Linked DNA regions of Homo sapiens: region 1 is linked to region 2. Evidence: promoter capture Hi-C in 16 types of primary human blood cells and fetal thymus (Javierre and others, 2016). All regions are on one chromosome and are shown on one strand. The core of a region is centred on a gene start or on the middle of the fragment in contact, and the rest is flanking DNA. Distances in the headings are between cores, read along the strand shown. Region 1 has its middle 63 kb from the start of LINC00524. Region 2 holds the start of MIR381HG (MIR381 host gene).

Region 1 (2,785 bases), core at 279-2,778, 300 kb before region 2:
TATTTTTGTTGATGCCCTTTATCAGGTTGAGGAAATGCCCTCTAATATAAATTTGCTGAGAGTAGTTATAAGGATGAGATATTAGATCTTGACAGATGAATCTCCTGCATTTATTGAGATGACCCTATATGGTTTTCTCCTATATTTGCCAATATGGTGAATTACATTATTTGATTTTCAAATGTTAAGTCAATTTTGCATTGCTTTATAACTCCACTTGGTCATGGCATATTATTCTTTTTGCATATTGTTTGATTCAATATACTCCGATTTCTTTAAGAATATTTGCATCTGTGTTCATAATATATATTACTCTGTAGTTTTTTTGTAATACTGTCTTCTCATTTTGGTATCAGAGTAATACTTCCCCATGGAATAAGTTGTAAAATGTTCCTCTTCTTTAGGTTATTGAAAGAATTTGTGTAAACTTGATTTTGTTTCTTTCCTAAATGCTTGGTGGAATTCTCTAGTTAAGCCAAGTGGCCCTGGGATTTTCTCTGTGAGAAGATTTTAAACAGCAAATTACATTTCTTTAATAGATATGAAGCTGGGCTATTTGGATAACCTGTTCTTGAGTGAGATCTGGCAGTTCATGTCTTTCAAGGACTTTTTCCATTTTATTGAAATTATTGAGTTTATTTATAGAAAGTTGCTCATAATATTCTCTCATAGTCATTTTATTGTCTGCAGTATTTTCAGTGATATCCTTTTTCTCTCTTATTTCTGATATTGGCAATTTGCTTTTTTCTCTTTCTTTTTCCAGATCTGTCTGGAGAGTGGTTTATCAATTTGATCCTTTTTTTTTTTTTTAAAGAGATGAGGTCTCACTATTTTTCCCAGGCTGGTCTCGAGCTCCTGAGCTCAAGTAATCCTCCTGCCCTGGCCTCCCAAAATGCTAGGATGACAAGCGTAAGTCACCATGCCCAGCCTTTTGCTACATATATTTTTTAAATAGAGGTTGCTTTAGGACTTTCAGTATAAATCTTAAATTTATAACAGTCTGTCTTTGAGTAATATTAGACTACCTCCCATACAGCACAACCATCTTACCAAGCTGTACTCCTGTTTCTCCCTTTCCAGCCTTTGTGCTATTGCTGTTATGCCTTTCATTTCTTCATATACTTTAAGCCTCATTATTAAGCTTACTTGAAATAGTCAATTATCTTTTAAAGAGATTTTTTTTTAAATAAGAGAAAATGCCTTTTATATTTATTCAATATGGACCATTGCTGGTGCTCTTCGTTTCTTTGCATACATCTAGATTTCTATCTGTTAACATTTGTCTTCTGCTCAAAGGGCTTACTTGACCATTTCTTGCAAGTGAAGGTCTGCTGGCAATGGACTTCTTCAGCTTTTGTGTATCTGAAAAGGTCTTCCTTTTTGCCTTTATTTTTGAAAGATAATTTTTCTTGGTGGGTAAATAATTCTAGATGGACAGTTGTTTTCACTTTCAGATGTTGCTGTATTATCTTTTGGCATACTTTGTTTCTGATAAGAATTTGGCTCTCATTCTTACATTTGTTCTTCTGTACATAAAGCATTTCTCCCTCCCTTATGCTGAATGCTTTTAAAGTTTTCTCTATATCACTGCTTTTGGGCAATTTTACTATGATGTACAGTGGTTGAGGTTCTTCAAACTTCTTGTATCTGTGGGTTTATAGTTTTTATAGAATTTGGAAACATTTCAATCATAATTTCTTCAATTTTTTCCCATCTGCCTCTCCTTCAGGGACTCCAATTACATGTAGATTGGGACATTTGAATTTGTCCCAGCAATGCTAATTCTCTGGTCAGTCTCCCCTTCCCCCATCTTTTTACTTTCTTTATTTTATTTTGTGTGGCTTGCATTTCTGTGTCTTCAGGTACACTACATTTTTTTTTCTATAGTGTAATCTACACTTCATCCTAAGCTTTAAAAAAAACTCTATCAATTCAATTTGTGTCTTCTTTTCTACAACTTCCAATGCCTCTTTTTCAATATTCTTATGTTCTCCTCTACCTTCTTTACATACAAAATATAACTTTTTAACATCTTTGTCGACTAACTCTACATACAAAATATGATAACTTTTTAACATCTTTGTCCACTAACTCTATCATCTGTGTCATTTCTGGGTCTGTTTCTATTGATTGATATTCCTGATTCTGGGTCATATTTTTCTATTACTTTGCATTCTTTTCCATTGGATGCCAGCATTGTACATTTTATTTTGTAGGTGCCGGATAACTTTATATTCCTTTACATGTTCTTGAGTGTTATCCTTGGAAGCCATTGTGTTACTTGGAAACAGCCTGATCCTTTTTGAGGTTTACTTTAAAGCGTTGTCAGGGGAAACCAGGATGGCCATTGGTGTAGGGATGATTTTACTTTGCTCTTGTGGCAATAGCCTTCTGAGTACTCTACCTGATGCCTTGGGTATTACAAAGTTTCTCTACTTGGACTGGTGAGAACACAATCTGTTCCTGGCCCACTGAGACTCACACATTTTTCTGCCTGTTCCTTTCTGGTGGGAGTTTCCTGGCCTTGGTAGTTGTCTTGCAGGCATACATCCATCAGTACTCCATGGAAGTCTCCAGGGGAAGCCTCGTTGAACTCTGCCCTACAATTCTAGCTGCCTGGGCCTCCCTGGGTTCTCAGCTCTGTCTCCTCCTTTGAGGGAACAGCAGGCTCTGTTTGGGTCAGCTTTCCCTGGAACGTAGCCTGGAAAGGATTTCTAGGTGGTAAGTGAGGACCGTGGTAAGGCTTGCCCATTTGTTTCCCTTCTTTAAAGGATCTCTGCTCTGT
Region 2 (2,831 bases), core at 26-2,525:
ACTGCCTTGGGTGGACTTGGTACGTCTTCAAGGCGCGGTCCTGGGGATGAATTAGATGCTGAGGGTTAGTGGACCGGGTCACATACCCCAAGCAGAACATGCACACTCACGGACCGAGTAACAGCAGGGACCACAAAGCCACTACCCCACACGAGCGCCACCCCAGCCATCGGCCCGGGCTGATGACTTCCCGCTCAGGAAGCAGGGACCCAGACCACACACATCGTGCATGCTTTTGGCCCCGCCCACACTGCACCAGGAGAGGGGATGTCCCAGAGGCCACTGCCTTCCCTAAAGTCATCCAGGTGCCCGTGAAGTCCTCTCTGTGAAGTGGGGACCCGTGAACGATTTGCCACACACAAAACGGATACACACGGTCATGCACACACATACCGCATCCCTTGCTGAGTGTGGACTGGGTCCAAGACAAGGTTTGATACTCACAGAGAGCTTGCCCTTGTATATTCCATGTCAATAAACCGAATATACAAAGGGCAACCTCGCTTTAAGTACCAAACAATAGCACTGGGCAGGTTCCTCACTATCATTCACGGGGCCGGCCTCCTCTCCCGGGGTTCATCCTGGCGGGGGAGGGGGTGGGAGATGCGGGATCAGCAGACCAGGTGGCAAACACCACCTGCCAGCTGTGTGCCCATAGGTCAGCTCTCCATCCCAAAGGGGCCAGGAAGGGGCAGACGCCAGTGCCCCTTCACCAGAATCAGCCTCTTTTCCAGGCATCACTCCAGATTAGAACTTGTTCCTGAAAAGGAGATCCACCCCACGGGCCTTCCTGGGCACACGCAGAGCTCAGCTTCTCACTTTCTATAGGAATTCCCTGGGGTGGGACCACCATCTCCTTCCCAGTGTGGGCACCTCTCCAGGAAGTTTTCCTAAGGATGCACTCAGCACCGAGGTCCCAGGCACTGGATGAATTTACACCTTAGACAAAGCAAAGGCCCTGTGGTCACCATCCCTTCATCCATCTCACAGAGCCGTTGACACCAGTGTCATTCTCCATGCCAGCCCTTGCCCCACCCCTGCCAGAGGCTGGCATCGTGGCCATGAAGCCATGCTAAGAAAGAGCACAGGGTCAACAGTAGTAAACCCCACGTACCCCCAAGTAACTGAGGAAGCAGACCCACAGCCCATTCCCCACAGTGGTCTCTCCTTCAAGAAGGGGAGAGGAGCGGGAGCCGCCTGGTCCAGGTGGCAGGTTATGTGACTCATTACCCAGGCGTGGTGCTCACCTCTCTTCAGCTGGACGTTCGCTTTCCTTGGGCTGAGGATGCTGCGAATGTCCTTCCTGAAGCTGGCTTCGGGTCCAGATGACCCCCATGGCAGTCGGGGTGTAAAAAGCCGGCAGTCACACGGCCCAAGGAGTGTCTCCACAAACACAGAACAAGAGTCCCATTCTCAGGCAGCCATCCTAGGTGTGAGCAGAAAGCCAGCAGTCAGAGACGGGGCACAGACATCGAGGCAGAAGCAGGCGCCCTCTGACCTCCCACATGCACGCACCTGGTGCGGGGCTGACAGCTCCCACGGCTCATCCCCAGCGCTGCCTTCATGGGCAATCACAAATGACAAATAGAAGCAAACCATTCTTACAGATTCAGCCTGGGGACTGCGAGCTGGATCATGAACACCCAAGCATCAAAAAAAAAAAGCGCTGATGAGCACACCTCAGCCCCTTCCCCAAGGTCAATACCACCTCCAGGAAGCCCTCCTGGGGCTGGCCTACCAGGCTCGAAAACAGCATAGACAGAGCCAGTGCTCCGTGGTCCACCATCACTGCTGTCTGTGTTCCCCTTGAAATGATCCAACATCCAGGTCCCCCTTCTAAGGCTGATGCTGGGAACAGGAAGCCTTCTGTGTATGACTTGGTACCAAGAAGAGGCAGATCAATGTGTGATTTATCCTTAAAAAAGCAAACCACCATTAAACTTGGAGCACACAAAAAGGTCCCTCCTCTCCCACTGCTTCCAGGGAGTCCACAGGAAGAACCAGCATAGAGGGCGAAGGCAGAACCCAGGGGCAGCGTCACAGCCAACCTCACGTTCCCGGACATGGAAGCCAGGCCATACCTGAGAGGGGCTGACATCCGAGGCTTTGTCCTGGAGACAAGCAGGGTATGAGTGTCTTCTCCGACAGTTTGATACGCAAATGAGAGTCTCCCCCTGTATATTCGCCATTAATCAAGTGAACATACAAAGGGTATCCTCTCTTTAAGTACCAAAGGGTGGCTCAAAGAGCAGGTGAGGACCATGCCGGGTCTTTGCCGGAGTGGACATCTCCTCCTGCGAGGCCTGAGACCAAGGGGGAGGGGCCCGGTGACAAGCCTCATCTGGCTGACCCTGGAGCTGGGCCTGCACCTTGCACATTGTGGCCTGGCCCCGAAAGGTGGCACATCCAGGACTCCCTGCAGGCGAGACTGGCTTCTAAACAAGGGAACAGGTAGGCATGACTATCAGTGTGCTCAGCATGCATGGGTGAACCTGCTTCAAATACCCACAAGCTACATGGACAATGGAACCATCACCTTTCTCCAAAGGGGCACAGGGTGTGAGGGCTCAGCCCGGCAAGACATGGAGTTATCAGAGAAGAAGGCATCTGCAGGCATTCTCAGAGCTGGAGAGCGCTGAGACAATGTCTCTCCTCTGAGGCTGGTTGTCCTAGAGATGACCAGATCCAAGAATGTGTCACCTGTACCTACCTCGAAACAAACAAAAAGAGGGCCCCAGCGTCAGACTCTAGCGACAAAGGAGTCCTGAAGACCAGACACACCTGCCCAAGGCACACTCAGGTGCAATCACTGGACAATGTGCTCCGAGGAC

Evidence for each region. Contacts are between HindIII fragments. The CHiCAGO score rates a contact against its expected background, and 5 or more counts as called.
Region 1: a fragment that was not itself captured here is called in contact with the fragment with the promoter of MIR381HG in region 2 in 1 of 17 cell types (endothelial precursors); the score reaches 5.6 in endothelial precursors.

Annotation. Positions count from the first base shown.
Region 1 is chr14:101,343,435-101,346,219 of GRCh38, reverse strand. No RefSeq gene overlaps it. Among named protein-coding and RNA genes, the nearest start is that of LINC00524, 63 kb to the left of the region's middle. The HindIII fragment of the contact is 769 bases long and covers 1,144-1,912 here.
Region 2 is chr14:101,043,601-101,046,431 of GRCh38, reverse strand. It overlaps MIR381HG (MIR381 host gene), which reads right to left and starts at 1,275. Exons shown (of 3, transcript NR_104192.1): 1 at 1,248-1,275. It overlaps MIR1185-2 (microRNA 1185-2), which reads right to left and starts at 2,234; the gene lies at 2,149-2,234. It overlaps MIR381 (microRNA 381), which reads right to left and starts at 512; the gene lies at 438-512. RefSeq lists enhancers at 1-166, 167-667. The HindIII fragment of the contact is 10,476 bases long and covers 1-2,831 here.